Regions from separate parts of the Homo sapiens genome. Here region 2 is linked to region 1. Evidence: promoter capture Hi-C in human tissues and cell types (Jung and others, 2019). All regions are on one chromosome and are shown on one strand. The core of a region is centred on a gene start or on the middle of the fragment in contact, and the rest is flanking DNA. Distances in the headings are between cores, read along the strand shown. Region 1 holds the start of ACYP1 (acylphosphatase 1). Region 2 overlaps NEK9 (NIMA related kinase 9).

Evidence for each region. Contacts are between HindIII fragments. The study calls those that stand out against the background at their distance.
Region 2: a contact is called between a fragment that was not itself captured here and the fragment with the promoter of ACYP1 in region 1, in 3 of the 25 tissues and cell types used here (mesendoderm cells, psoas muscle and stomach).

The regions. Positions count from the first base shown.
Region 1 is chr14:75,060,543-75,068,398 of GRCh38, reverse strand. ACYP1 (acylphosphatase 1) reads left to right here and starts at 4,375. Exons shown (of 3, transcript NM_001107.5): 1 at 4,375-4,445; 2 at 4,838-4,929. The coding sequence starts at 4,846. RefSeq lists an enhancer at 4,035-4,204. The HindIII fragment of the contact is 1,499 bases long and covers 3,298-4,796 here.
Region 2 is chr14:75,115,901-75,123,756 of GRCh38, reverse strand. It overlaps NEK9 (NIMA related kinase 9), which reads left to right. Exons shown (of 22, transcript NM_033116.6): 3 at 2,583-2,638; 4 at 3,177-3,247; 5 at 4,822-4,927; 6 at 6,431-6,562. It also overlaps the pseudogene HIF1AP1. Among named protein-coding and RNA genes, the nearest start is that of NEK9, 7.2 kb to the left of the region's middle. The HindIII fragment of the contact is 7,023 bases long and covers 1-5,020 here.

The DNA of each region.
Region 1 (7,856 bases), core at 3,126-5,625:
CCGGGAATTGACTCCATCACTTTACCCCTGCATTTTTGTTTTGTTTTGTTTTCTGTTTTGTTGGTTTTTGGGGTTTTTTAAAGTTGTTTGTTTTTTGTTTTTTGAGACGGAATCTCGCCCTGTTTTGTTGCCCAGGCTGAAGTGCAGTGGCGCACTCTTAGCTCACTGCCACCTCTGCCTCCTGGGTTCAAGTGATTCTCCTGCCTCAGCCTCCCGAGTAGCTGAGATTACAGGCGTCTGCCACTACACCTGGCTAATTTTTTGTATTTTTAGTAGAGACAGAGTTTCACCATGTTGGCCAGGCTGGTCTTGAACTCCTGACCCCAGGTGATCCGCCTGTCTCAGCCTCCCAAAGTGCTGGGATTACAAGCATGAGCCACCGGGCCTGGCCTTTGTTTTTGAGACAGGGCCTCACTCTGTTGCCCAGGCTGAAGTGCAGTGGCACAATCACTGCTCACTGGAGCCTCAACTTCCACAGCTCAAGTGATCCTCCCACCTCAGCCTCCCGAGTAGCTGGGACTACAGGTGTGTGCCCCCCACACCCAGCTTACTTCTTTTTTTTTTTTCTGTAGAGACAGGGTCTCCCTTTGTTACCCAGGCTGGTCTCAAACCCCTGGAGTCAAAAGAGATCCTCCCGCCTCAGTCTCACAAAGTACTGAGATTATAGACGTGAGAGACGGCACCCTGTCTGCATCTTGTTAACTTCAAGTTATACCTCTCCATAAACTCTGTCTCTTTGGTTTTAACATATACTCAACTTTCCCCTGCAAAACAAACCTTACTTCCCTTGACCTAACTTTCATATTACAGTCCCATTCATTTCTCCTCTTCTCCACAAGACTTCTTAATGGAAATCTCCACATTTGCTGCCCACATATCCTCATCTCCCCGTCATTGTCCAGTTCATTGTGGCCTGTCTTCTACTTTCTCCACTTTATTTAACTACAAAGCTACCAGTGACTTTCCAAAGACAAAAGCTTCATTTTTTCAGCCTACTCATGTGACATTACTGATTATCCACCCACTTAGAATGCTCTTCTCAGTTCTCCTGTGCCCTCTTGGTTTCTTCTTTCATGTTCTTGCTCCATCTTCTTCCAAGTCTGGCATTTATCTTTTCCCCATCTACTCCCTAAATTTAAGTGTTTTCTGAAGCCCTCTTATTTCATATATATGTGTGTGTGTGTGTGTGTGTGTGTGTGTGTGTGTGTGTGTGTGTAGTTCCAGACATTCTCTTCTTTAATGATTTCAACCAAATGCTGAAATTTCAGGTTTCACCTGTGTTTAAATGACAGCCAGCTTAGCTTTAGTCTTTCTCATTAGTTACAGACTCAAATTTCAGGACTGCCCATTTGACACCTCCACAAGATTGTTCCTTAGGAACCTCAAATTCTGTAAGACAACATAAACTCTGATCCTCTCCCATTCTCAAATCTGCCTCTCCAGTGTGCCCTTGCATGCTCACAGCATCAGTCTTCCATGCTTCCCTCTTTGTTGCCTCTTCCTTCTAACTAATCACAAGTTTTATTGAGTTTTCTTCCTTTTTTTCTTTGAGACAGTCTTGCTCTGTCATCCAGATGGGGGTGGAGTGGCGCGATCTCAGCTCACTGCAACCTCTGCCTCTCAGGTTCAAGCAATCCTCCTGCCTTGGCCTCCCTAGTAGCTGGAAGTACAGGTGTGCACCACCACGCCCAACTAATTTCTGTATTTTTAGTAGAGATGGGGTTTCATCAGTCTCAAACTCCTGACCTCAGGTGATCCACCTGCCTTAGCCTCCCAAAGTGCTGGGATTACAAACGTGAGCCATCACGCCTGGCCTATTGAGTTTACTTCTGCAATGTCTCTCATATATGACTCTTCCTTTACATTTCTGCTGCCCCAGGTGAGTTTTTCCTCACTTCTCCTTGGGATGGCATAGCCCTCCTAACTTCTGCTCTTGCCTTCAATATCTGCTCTTCAAACCCATCCTTCATGCTGCAGGCAAAATAATCAGTCTAAATATTTCTCCACCCCCCCCCAGCTTTATTAAAATATAATTGACAAGCAAAAATTATATCTATATTTGCAGTGTACAAAGTGATGTTTTGATAATGTATGCATTGTGCAGTGATTAAATCAAGCTAATTACTAAATGCTTCTGATCCTACCATTTCCCTCCCCAGTAGCTTCTTCTTTACCTATAGAATAAAGTTGAAATGCATAATTTAGCATGGCATCTCTACCTCCCAGATTAGGTCCAGCCTACCTTTTCAGTTTTGCCTCCCCTTAATAAGCCACAGAGTTCAACCCAGTGAGTCTCATCCCTGACTGTGTGTTAAGACTACTTGGAAAGCAATATCTAGGGGTGAGGCCTGAGGATTAACATTTTTAAAGCTTCCCCAAAGATCCTGATGCACAAGCAGGGTAGCAAACCCCTGGTCTAGCCACAACTGGCTACTTGTACTTCTTCATCTCCATGGTACTACATTACTCTAAGCTCCACATACTGGGAGCTGGTAGAGCATAGCATTCATGGGGATTGACTCTGGAACCAAATCCCAGCTCCATCACTTACTGGTTGTGTGACCTTGGATTAAATGCTGTTTCCTCCAAGAACTCTTTCCCTGTCTTCCCAATCAGAATTAATTTGTTTGCTCCTTTGTAATATTTTCTGTCCTTGTTATAGCACAGGGCTGGTTCCTGATGAGCTCTCAATGGATTTTCATGGAATTAAATTATCATGCCATATATTTTATTGTCATTATTTGCATGCATTTGTGCCCCTACACTAAATTAAAAACTCTTTGAGGGCAAAGATTTTATATCATTCATCTTTGTATATCCTAGAGTGCCCCATTCGTATTAGACACTCAGTAAGTTTTGAATTCTATAAACTATTTTTTAAATGAATTTTAGAGAAAGAAATACCATTAGCAAGATACTCTATTTAGAGTTATTTTCAAATATTGCCAAGTACAACATTCAATCCAGCTTGTTCACCACCAACCCCCCACCTCTCAGCACTAAGGTTGTATGATTCTCTAGGATATGGATCCTCACTCTAGCGGGGAACTAGCAGAATGATGAATTTCCGTGCCTACTGTCACAAACCCATATCTCATTGTCAAGTCTGCCAACCTGGCATATTCACATAAGGAGTCTTTACGTTATGAAGAGGTGTAATGTATACAGTCAATCCACAGAGGATCAATAAACACCACAGTTTTCCTTCACACACATGAATCATAAGGGTAGCTGGATTCAAATGTTTACACATCAACTCTAATTTTAACCATCTTCATCCACATCCCCCTTGACAATTCCCTGTTCCCAAAATAAATTCGTGTAGTTTGGCCATTTGGCTTAGATTGACTGACTCAACTGTAATTCTGGAGCCATGAGTTATTTTGCTTGTGCTCTTGCTTTATTTGTGTAGTTAGCTGGTTATTTGTTCAAGCATTATTTGACATTTTCTTAGTAAAGGAGACCGGTGAGTAGCTTCCAGAAGCCCAGAAGCAGACATAACCTCCATTGGGACCTCCTGTGCACTTATGCCCCGTAATCCCCTATTCCAGATTGTTATGACCCAAACTTTAAGGAGAACTGAATGAAAAAGGACAGAAAGGTTAAATGTATCCTACTCAACATATTTATGATGTTTATTTTTTTATTTATTAATTTATTTATTTGAGTCAGAGTCTCCCTCTGTTGCCCAGGCTGGAGTGCAGTGGGGCAATCTCGGCTCACTGCAGCCTCCACCTCCCAGGTTCAAGCGATTCTCCTGCCTCAGCCTCCCGAGTAGCTGGGATTACAGGCGCCCGCCACCATGCCCGGCCAATTTTTGTATTTTTGGTAGAAACGGGGTTTCACCATGTTGGCCAGGCTGCTCTCGAACTCCTGACCTCAAGTGATTCGCCCGTGTCGGCCTCCCAAAGTGCTGAGATTACAAGCTATTTATGATGTTTAATGTGTGCTGTTTGTCTCTCACCTCCAGAATTAAGCTCCTCAGGACAGGGATCCTGTTTTGTTCACTGATGTTTGCCTGGTCACCTAGAACAGGTGCCTGGCACACAGTAGCTGTCAGTCAGTATTTAATTGAATGATTGAATGTATCCCCATGTACTTCTTCGTCTATGCCTTTCTCCTCATGAGAAAATGAGAAGAGGGTTGCGCTTGTTGACTGAGATGCGATGAGGGCTAGGTTTGTGGAGGCCCAGCCGAGTTCCTGGACAGATCCCCAACCCAAAGCTTTTGGGTTGCCGGACAACCGCGTCCTGAAATCCCACCTTCTGGGCGGGCCCGGGCCGAGGCGCCGTCTCTGATTGGTCAGCTGGAGGTGATGGGCATGAGCGACAGCGAAGGAGCAGCTACACACTAAACTTCCGGGCGCGGAGGTTTGCGCGCCTTGGTGAGCCGTTGGCGTGGTGGTCCCGGAGTGATCCTGGCAGCCGGTGGGGAAGACAAGGAGGGTGAGCCGCCAGGGGCCCCCAGGGTGTGCTTCTCAGGTCGATTAGCCCTAAAATGTTAGTAGCAGGGGATTCTGGGAGTTAGTAGCAGGGAATTCTGGTAGTGAGGGAGCGGGACCGGGCATGGATGTAAGGAGGTCATCGGTCCTCAGGTTATTTCCCCAGAAGAGGCTTCAGCGGGCAGCTGCGATCCGAAGCTCCCTCTCCCGGCGTCTGGTTCTTCCTTCACACACACCTTATCACATCCACTCACGTTTCCATTTCCAGGACCTTGAAGTCGGGGAGAGGTCGCAATGGTTAAGGATGGACAGGGGTGGGTGTGGCCCTTTCTGACTCAGGCTTGCGGGTCCTGGAATAATAGCCCTTCACTCTTCTGCTTTCCTGGTTTCTGACAGGTTTGAGCATGGCAGAAGGAAACACCCTGATATCAGTGGATTATGAAATTTTTGGGAAGGTGCAAGGGGTGTTTTTCCGTAAGCATACTCAGGTATGTGGCCTGCAGGCTTTGGGGTGGTAACCTAGGTTGTGGGCATAGGAACAAGGGACGTGTTCTTGACAAATGTGAACTAGAAGCCGCTGGCTATTTGGTAGCTGCATGGCAAAGAGGTAGTTTGTAGAGCAATGAGTATGAAAATGCTGTGCAATCGGTAAAACATGGTGTAAATGGAAGATCACCCTGCTGTTATTATTAGTCAGTGGTGCCTGAGCATCTAGATACACATATTAATGAGCTTCTCTCTTCCAAGGGAAATAGAGGGCTTCCCCAGTGCTCGCCGTTGTGGCATCATCAAACCAAGTCAGGTTTCTTATAGAAAGGCTAACATTGATTGAAGAGCTGGCATTTAGATGACCTGATGTCATGTATATAACATATATAAATGCTTCCTCTGCAGCTGCTGCACTTTCTTCAGACCTCTTTCTCCAAGCTTCCCTCAGTTCTCCACTTAATTTCTTTCTATTCTTTTTTGGTTTTGAAAGAACATTTACCTTTTCCAGCTGACGTTTTTCTTATTAAAAACTCTTTATCCATTCCAGAATAGGTGATGGGAACACTGAATGTGGAGCCTGGTATTCTTCCTAGAGCAATAAAGGATTATTTGAGGGGATGGACAAACTGTTGGCAGCCTCTACCTCTGCTTTAATGTGGCTAATCTTCCCTCAACAGGCACACACAAATGCAAGCTCAATTTACCCTCTGCCTTCTGTAGGTATTGGCTATTGCCTTCCCAGTGTGTCGCTAATCCCACAGATAATGAGTTAGGACTGCAAAACTTCTTTTTTTTTTTTTTTTTTTTTTGTATTTTTAGTAGAGACAGGGTTTCACCATCTTGGCCAGGCTGGTCTTGAACTCCTGGCCTCGTGATCCATCCGCCTCAGCCTCCCCAAGTGCTGGGATTACAGGTGTGAGCCACCGCACCCGGCCAGGACTGCAGAACTTCTTAAGTGTCTCATTCCTGGGACTGTGGTACTTAAAATTCAAATTCTAACCTGGAAGGAATCTTTGAAACATGAATGTGAATTGTCAATACCTCTTTCCCTTTTTCTTTTTTTTTTCTGAAGGATGGTGGCACAGTCACAGCTTATTGCAGCCTTAACCTCCCAGGCTCAAATGATCCTCCTTCCTCAGCCTCCCAAGTAGCTGGGACCACAGGTGCATGCCGCCACACCCAGCTTTTTTTTTTTTTTTCTCTTTTAACAGAGAGCTATGTTGCCCAGGCTGGTCTCAAACTCCCAGGCTCAAGTGATCCTTCTGCCTCGGCCTCCCACCAGTGTGCTGGGATTACAGGCATGAGTGACCATACCCAGCCAATACCTCTTTTTCTTTTCTTTTCTTTTTTTTTTTTTTTTTTTTTTTGAGACAGAGTTTCATTCTTTTTGCCCAGGCTGGAGTGCAATGGCACGATCTCAGCTCACCGCAACGTCCGCCTCCCGGGTTCAAGCGTTTCTCCTACTTCAGCTTCCCAAGTAGCTGAGATTACAGGCATGTGCCACCATGCCCCGCTAATTTTGTATTTTTAGTAGAGACAGGGTTTTTCCATGTTGGTCAGGCTGGTCTTGAACTCCCAACCTCAGGTGATCCGCCCACCTTGGCCTCCCAAAGTGTTGGGATTACAGGTGTGAGCCACTGTGCCCGGCCAATACCTCTTTTTCTAATTATTCAAAAATCATTTCTTCCCATCTGACACTCAAATAGGAAATGACTGTTGAAAACAGAATTGCTGAAACTCACAGCAAGAGCTGTGTTCCAGTTAGCTTTGCTACCAGTTATGCAGGTAAGTTCCTGTAAATTAAGGTGATTGAGATAACAGCTTCAAAGATTAGTCAAAGTTGTTGAGGGAAAAGGGTCAGATAGTGGTATGCATAGCCCATCTTTCTCTACCTGCCCCTCTCCCCAGTTTAAAGAGAGAATAACAGAATGCAGAAAAACAAATATTGATTGGAAAACTGCATATAAAATGACATCTATTTTTTCTTAATTAGGCTTGTAGCTTATTCTTTACTATTTATAATCATTTAAATATATATGTTCATTTGAACAGTTGTTTTGCTGCAATGTTTGCTGTTGATATTATCTAGCCTCTTATTTAAATTCCTTCATTTCTAGAGAAGTGACAAATAATAATTCAGGGACTTTTGAAAACTTGGAATATAATTTACATCCCATAAAACCCATCCTCCTAAAGTGTATAATTTGGTGATTTTTAGTATATTCACAAAATGTTGCACTAATTCCAGAACATTTTCATCATCCCAAAAAGAAACCCCTACCTAGGTTAGCACTCACTCCTCATCCCCTGAGCCCCTGGCAACCACTAACCTACTTTCTGTCTCTATGGATTTGCCTATTCTAGATTGTTGTTGTTGTTGTTGTTGTTGTTGAGACAGAGTCTCAACTCTGCCTCATTCTGTCACCCAGGCTGGAGTGCAGTGGCGTGATCTCGGCTCACTGCAACCTCTGCCTCCTGGGTTCAAGTGATTCTTCTCCCTCAGCATCCCAGGTAGCCGGGATTACAGGCATGCACCACCATGCCCAGTTAACTTTTGTATTTTTAGTAGAGATGGGGTTTCACCATGTTGGCCAGGCTGGGTCTTGAACTCCTCACCTCAGGTGATCCACCTACCTCAGCCTCCCAAAGTGCTGGGATTACACGCATGAGCCACCGTGTTCAGCCTATTCTTGATATTTAATATAAATGGAATCATACAAATGTGGCCTTTTTTTGTGACTGGCTCCTTTCACTTAACATATTGTTTTCAAGGTTTATCTACACTGTAGCATGTATTAGTATCCTATTCCTTTTTATGGCTGAATAATATTCCATTGTATGGATATACCACATTTCATTTATCCATTCATCAATTGATGGAAATTTGGGTTTCTGATTTTTGGCCATTATGAATAGTAGTGCTGTG
Region 2 (7,856 bases), core at 260-2,759, 58 kb before region 1:
AATGACATTAGTTAACCAGAGTGTGGCTTGGCAGCACTTGATACAGTATTTAATAAGATCTTATAGGTGATATTTATTTATATTGTCTTCAGCTAAAGCTATCCTATTGAAAAGTGGTCCAAAGATCATAACTGAGTGAAAGTAATATATAGTAAAGCATGGCCCTATTTATCTGGTCCCTGATTTCTTCACATCATTTTGCTTGTAAGATAGCAATATAGCCTAGTTGTTAAGAAAATAGACTCTAAAACCAAGTTTCTCTACTTTCTAGCTCTATAACCTTGGCAAGAAACTTAACTTCTCTGTGCCTCAGTTTCCTCATTTTATTTTTATTATTATTATTATTTTTTTTGAGATGGAGTTTTACTCTTGTTGGAGTAAAGGCTGGAGTGCAATGGTGCCATCTTGGCTCACCACAACCTCCGCCTCCTGGGTTCAAGCAATTCTCCTGCCTCAGCCTCCCAAGTAGCTGGGATTACAGGCATGCGCCACCACGCCCAGCTAATTTTTGTATTTTTAGTAGAGACAGGGTTTTGCCACGTTGGCCAGACTGGTCTCGAACTCCTGACCTTAGGTGATCCGCCCACCTCCGCCTCCCAAAGTGCTGGGATTACAGGCTTAAGCCACCATGCCCAGCAGTTTTGTCATTTTAAAATGAGTTTGTTGGCCAGGGACAGTGCACACCTGTAATCCCAGCGCTTTGAGAAGCCAAGACAAGCAGATCACTTGAGCATAGGAGTTTGAGGAAAGCCTAGGCAACATAGTGAAACCCTGTCACTACCAAAAATACAAAAAATTAGCTGGGTGGTGTGCACCTGTAGTCACAGCTACTTGGGAGGCTGAGGAGGGAGGATGGCTTGAGACTGGGAGGCAGAGGTTGCAGTGAGCTTGTGAGCTCAGACCGCTGCACTCCAGCCTGGGCGATGGAGCCAGACCCTGTCTCAAAAAAAAAAAAAAAAAAAAAAAAGCTGGGCGTGGTGGCTCACGCCTGTAATCCCAACACTTTGGGAGGATCACAAGGTCAGGAGATCGAGACCATCCTGGCCAACATGGTTAAACCCAGTCTCTACTAAAAATAACAAAAATTAGCTGTGCATGGTGGCGCGTGCCTGTAATCCCAGCTACTCGGGAGGCTGAGGCAGGAGAATCGCTTGAACCAGGGAGTTGGAGGTTGCAGTGAGTGGAGATCATGCCACTGCAGCCTGGTGACAGAGCGAGACTCCATCTCAAAAAAAAAAAGTTTGTTGATAACAGTACCTACTTTCTAGGATTGTTGTATTACATGCATAGTGCTTGGTAGGTAGAAAGTGTTTGCTACATACTGTACTAGCTGTTAATCATCTTATTGCACAGGAGAACCTCCAAAGCCCTTTTCTGAACTGCATGCTAAAGAGGTCCCAGCATATTCGTCACTTACGACTTCCTTGTGTAAACTCTTGTATATTATGATCATTGGTGATCAATGCCATATACAAGATTCTGTTAAAAATTTTCGAAGTAGCAGAAGCCCTAGGTAGTTAACTTCTTTTGTGGTTAGGAAGAACTGGAACAAATGATACATTTATTGAAACTGAGTTATTAAGTTGCAGGGGAAAAGAAGTTGTAAAAACTTACCCAGGGCTAAAGTGTAAGTTATAGTTGCAGGTGGGATGTAAGATGAACCATGATTACTTGCAGTCTGTATTACTTGGTAAAGGAAAGAGAGAAGTAAATTCACACTTATTCCACAGGAAGAAATTAGTAAAGAGAGTAATGATAGGAAACAGTCTAGGGGTAGACCCTAAATTTTGGGAAATATTTCGGTGTGAAGTAGAAAATTTGTCAATATATACCCTATAAATACAAAACATTGCATCACAGGTGTAACCCAATTTTTTTCTTTTTTTCCTGAGATAGACTCTCACTGTCACCCAGCCTGGAGTGCAGTGGTGCGATCCCAGCTCACTGCAACCTCCGCCTCCCAGGCTCAGGCGATCCTCCCACGCTCAGGCGACCCTCCCACCTTAGCCTCCTGATTAGCTGGGACCACAGGCACATGCCCCAACAGCTGGCTAACTTTTTGTATTTTTGGTAGAGACAAGGGTTTTGCCGTGTTGCCCAGGCTGGTCTTAAATTCCCAAACCCAAATGATTTGCCCACCTCAGCCTCCCAAAGTGCTGGGATTATAGGCGTGAGCCAATGTGCCCAGCCTAATCCAGATGTTATAGTAGTCACAACTGGGAGAGTTGTTACAAAAATATTGTAGAGTCCTTAAAGGAGAGTTCTAGAAAAGAAATCTGATTTTGAATATACTTCACTTGTTGGGAACAACAAGAATGGTCTTTACTCACATCTTTTCTAAAAATGTCTTTTTTTTAATTACGCCTCTTGTGTTAGAGAGGGAGATCTTTGAAGAATATTTCTGATGCGGTCCTTGAGAGATGGGAAGAGTTTTGTGCCCATGTGAAAAGTCAAAAGAAGTAGTTGCCTATGGAGAGAAAGCAGAATCCTTCATTTCCTTGTGTCACCTAAAAAAACCTGTTACAGGAGCCAAGCTTTGATCTGTATTAAGCAATTCAAATCTGTGTCTTGTTTAATTGCAGGAGGGAACCTGTATGACAAAATCCTTCGTCAGAAGGACAAGTTGTTTGAGGAAGAGGTAATTCATATTTCTGTGGAAGGAAGTTAGAATTGTAGTGTTGTAATTCTTGCATTCTAGTTCTGTATTTACTCTTCCAATAGTGAAGAGTGTTTTTTTCCTTTTGTTCAGACTCCTTCCAGGCTCTGATATTCATGAGAAAGGAAACCTCTAACAAGGAAGCTGTCTATAGCTGCTTCCTAAACGTTTTACCTCCACATCATGATTCTCTGTGGGCTTTCTTTCCTGGTTCTATTACTGCGTACTGGTATGCCCAGTTTTCTATAACTTTGCATTCTTCCTGAATTTTCCTACATGTCTGCTTTACCATACTATATATTATAATGACATTGGAACTATTTTATGAGGAACCTGTTTTTTGTGGTTTTTTACCCCTTCACTTTTCTTTGCCTACTCAACCTGCAAGGAAGAGATGTCAAGTCATGTTGAATCATAACTTCTGGTTGCAGTTTTCTTTGTTTTGTTTGTTTATGTGTGTGTGTATTTACTTAAATGGAGCTTTTTGTTTCTAATCCAAATATTTATTTTTTCTCTGCAGATGGTGGTGTGGTACCTATTTCAGATTGTTTCAGCAGTGAGCTGCATCCATAAAGCTGGAATCCTTCATAGGTAAGAAGTAAAAAAAATTATGGATGGATTCTTCCCTACCAATTCAGCCCCTACCGTGGATACCCCCCCAACAACACTTTTATTTTCTTGGTTAAGCAGCCAAGAGTTTTTCCATTGATATCACTAGGAAAGGAAAGTAATGAGCAATATTATTTTCACTCCCTGAGGTTAAACCATGTTTATGATCTAGGAAGAGTCTCCTCAGTAGCCAAGTACTACTGAAGTCATTTTACAGACAAAAATTTTAGAGTTCAGTTTGTTAATTCATCAGTAAAGCCTAGAAGGGCACTATGAGAAGTAGTATTTGGTAAGAATTCACAGCAATAATAATTGGCAATTCTTTTTAATTCTATAATTAAGATCTTTTAATTTAAATAAAAGCCTCTTCACTCTGTATATTTACTTGTACAAATTTACCAGATCTTTAAAAACAAGCATGATTGCATTCATTTCTAGCTATAGAAGAGAAGCATCTCAATAACATTTTCACATCATTATGCCCTTCTTAAGTGAGTCATTGACTGGTGCCAGAGATTAATTATAATACACTAAGATTTCTTTTTTTATTGGTTTGTTCATTCAGTTAACATGTATTTCTTGATAGCTATTAAATGGCTTCTGTTGCATGTTGTTATTTTCTTTTTAAAAGTAACAAAGTATATTGTTCTGGTTTATTCGCATCTTTCAATAAAGGAAGACATAGTGAACCAGGCACAGTTATTTTGTTTTACATATGGTCAATTTATCTTTAGAAAAATAGCCTGTGATTTTATTTAGATGACTAAATGGCCTAATCATATCATTGCAGGGACATGTAGGCCTCTTCTCTTGCCTTAACAGATTATTTGAAACTTTGACACCAACCAAGTTTGTTAAAGTTGCCTTGATATCACTTAATTCAAGGCATAAGTGATAGTTGAAGAGGTGTGGTATCTTATGGGAATTATGGTTACCTAGAGCACCATTTTCCTCATCTGACCGTCTCAACTTTTCCTAATAGCTTCAGTAGTATGGGAGATATTTCTATGCTGTGAAGCCCTAGAGGATGAAGTTAATTCTCTGCCTTCACTCCTTTAAAGTCCCCACTTCAGTGTTAAATAGCATGTGAAAGTGATGACCACTGTGGGATGTTTAGGATATCCTAAATGAATGAGCAATGGTAACACTCTTTTTTTGTTTTATTTTGTTTTAGTTTTTGAGACAGGGTCTCACCCTGTTGCCCAGGCTGGAATGTAGTGGTGCAATCATGACTCACTGCAGCCTCAGCCTCCTGGGCTCAACTGATTCTCGGTGCTTTAACCTCCCGAGAAGCTAGGACTACAAGTGTATGCCACCACTCCTGACTAATTTATTTTTTGTAGAGATGGGGTCTCACCATGTTGCCCAGGCTGGTGAAGAACTCCTGGCCTCAAGCAGTACTCCTGCCTTGCCCTCCCAAAGTGCTGAGATTACAGATGTGAGCCACTGTACCCGGCCCACACTCATTTTTATTCTGTAATAATCCTGGGCAAGGCGGGGGATGAAATAAAACAATTATCTGTGTGAACTTAATTTGCAGCATCTTTTTTTTTCAGAGATATAAAGACATTAAATATTTTTCTGACCAAGGCAAACCTGATAAAACTTGGAGATTATGGCCTAGCAAAGAAACTTAATTCTGAGTATTCCATGGCTGAGACGGTATGTGTTGCCCTTGTCTTAATTTTTATTTTATTTTCTAGCACTGTGAAATATAACTGTACTCCCTAAATCTTGCATACTTTTCTCAATATTCTTGCAAGTTCTCCATACTTTTAATGCATGTCTTCAGAAGTCTTTTTCCTGGGCCCACTAGCAGGCATTTAAGTCATTGCCCACGTTACAGCTCTGACCTCATAGCCTTTTTCCAGCACTGATTAGGGACTTATCTAAAAGCAGCAAAATGCTTTACTGTTTTGTCCAGGTTAGGATCTTTAGTAGATTTCACTTTATCTCTTATTTAATGTTTGAGCTCAAGGTGTTAGACATCTCTTTGTTTTTCCTTTGAATGCTTCTGGTTCAAAGAGAACCCTATATTTCAAGTGAAGGCTGATGCTCAGAGAACAATCCATTCTTTAATATTATACACAGTCTGAACTGCACAGGGGTCCCTTCTCACATGATTTTGAGAAAGATCATTGGTAAAGAGTAGACATAAGTTGATCTTTAGGACAGTAATCTTATCCTTTTAGGAATTATAAAACCCAGTTGTTATTCTTCTAGTTTCACAATGCTCTGTCCTTAAAAGAAATTGAAAACTGATTTTGGCCAATAATTTTTTTTTTAATAATGTCAAGGTTTGCCTGCAAGCAATTTAGATGTTTAGGGTTTGGAGTCTCTGCTTCAGGGACTCAGATGTTTCTATGATGGAGGCCAAAGTGAGCTTCTGAAGAAGCAATCATATCTTTATATGGATTTTTCTCATCAAGAACAATCTGATAAAACCAAGACTTGACTTTTTTTAGCTAGTTAAATGCAAAGAAGGAATGATATGAAAATTTATAAAAGCCATGTAAGCCATCTGAAATTTGCTTTGCTTTGCTGCTTAAAGCTGACTATGAATTTTATTAGAGCTGCTAGGGCATTCATTATATCTCATCTTGGGAGAGGCATGACTTCTTAGGACATTTTTATTTCCAAATTTATTTTTGAAGTCAGAAAATCTTTTTCAAATTCAAAGGAAATTCGCTAGCTGTGTTAGTATAACAGATGCCAAATTGGGCATTTTAAAAGTTTCATTGCGCGTATTTTAGTTAGAACATCTAATTCCTTCATTGAGTTACCATCTCCCCACTGCCAGTGTTTGGATTTTTTTCCCATTGGTGAACTTCTACTAAGTATGTCTTTAAGTTTGTGTAAAGTCTTCAGTAGGCCTTGAATGCCTGAAGCCTCTGTGATCTAGGAATCACAGAGCTATTGAGCCCCTCAAGTTACCACAGTTCCTTTGTCACAGAGATTGTCCCTTTATAATTGACCCAAGAGGTTTGATATGAATAAGATTTCTTTCCATAGTGGCATCGTCTCATAAAAACCATTTTGGAATCTGCTGATGAATGTTTTATGGTTGTTATGACTAGTTCCTAGGAAATTTAATTAAGCTGTTGAAATGTTAACATAGTTACCTCAGAAAAGAAGTTATTCTTTGATTGTTTCTTTGTTGCTCAGCTTGTGGGAACCCCATATTACATGTCTCCAGAGCTCTGTCAAGGAGTAAAGTACAATTTCAAGTCTGATATCTGGGCAGTTGGCTGCGTCATTTTTGAACTGCTTACCTTAAAGAGGACGTTTGATGCTACAGTAAGTTGGCATATTATCCCCATATTGCATTTAGCAGGTTGCAAATGGTACAGCTTGACTAAGCAGATCAACTCTATTCCCAGGCTTCTGATTTCTGGCAAAAATAACCTGTATTCAGGTACAAGATTAGTAATCTATTACTAAAATGCTATAGACCCAGCCAGGCGCAGTGGCTCACGCCTGTAATCCCAGCATTTTGGGAGGCCGAGGTGGGTGGATCACTTGAGGTCACCCCGGCCAACATGGTGAAACCCCGTCTCCATTAGAAATACAAAACTCAGCCGGGTGTGGTGGCGCACACCTGTAATCCCAGCTATTTGAGAGGCTGAGGCACAAAAATTGCTTGAACCCAGGAGGTGGAGGTTGCAGTGAGCCAAGATCATGCCACTGCACTCCAGCCTGGGCAACAGAGCAAGACTCTGTCTCAAAAAAATCTCCAACTTGAATTCCCTGTTGAAATGATCACTTGAACCCGGGAAGTGGAGACTGCAGTAAGCCAAGATCGCACCACTGTACTCCAGCCTGGGCAACAGAGCAAGACCCTGTCTCAAAAAAAAATTAAAATTAAATTAAATTTAAAAGTTCATCTCTTAAAAGCAAAAAATGGAATATGATGGTTCACTTTTTCAAGCAGTAGGAATTGGAACATTATTAACAGCAGCCAGATGATCATGCAGCTACTGCATCACTTTCCTAGAAACGTGTAAAAGAATGCAAATCTAGTGAACAGAATGGAAGGGAGCAAAAGATAATTGTTTTATTTGGGTCTCACTCTGTTGCCCAGGCCTGGAGTGCAGTGTCGTGATCATAGCTCACTGCAGTCTCAAACTCCTGTGCTCCAGCAGTCATCCCGCCTCAGTCTCCTGAGTAGTTCGAACTACAGGCATGCCTCACCACACCTGGCTATTTTTTGTAGAGATGGGTTCTCACTATGTTACCCAAGCTTGTTTCAAAATCCTGGCCTCAAGTGATCCTCCTGCCTTGGCCTGTGCTAGGATTACAGGTATGAGCCCCCATGCCCAGCATATTTATGCCTTTTTCTAAATTGTTACTTCTTTGTGCCTTTATTCTATCTTGTAAACACTTCTGACATAGCACCAGTATCACTTTATTGTACTTACTTTTTTTATATAGCTGTGGTTTTGCCAGGTAGTCTAAAACCCTTCCAAATGTTTGCTTTATTTTCTGCAATACCTAACACATCGTGGGTGTTAAAAATATTCATTAACTAGGAAAAAAATGTTTATCTGTTAAAAAATAAATAAAGATTGTCATTGCTTTATGGACAATGAAT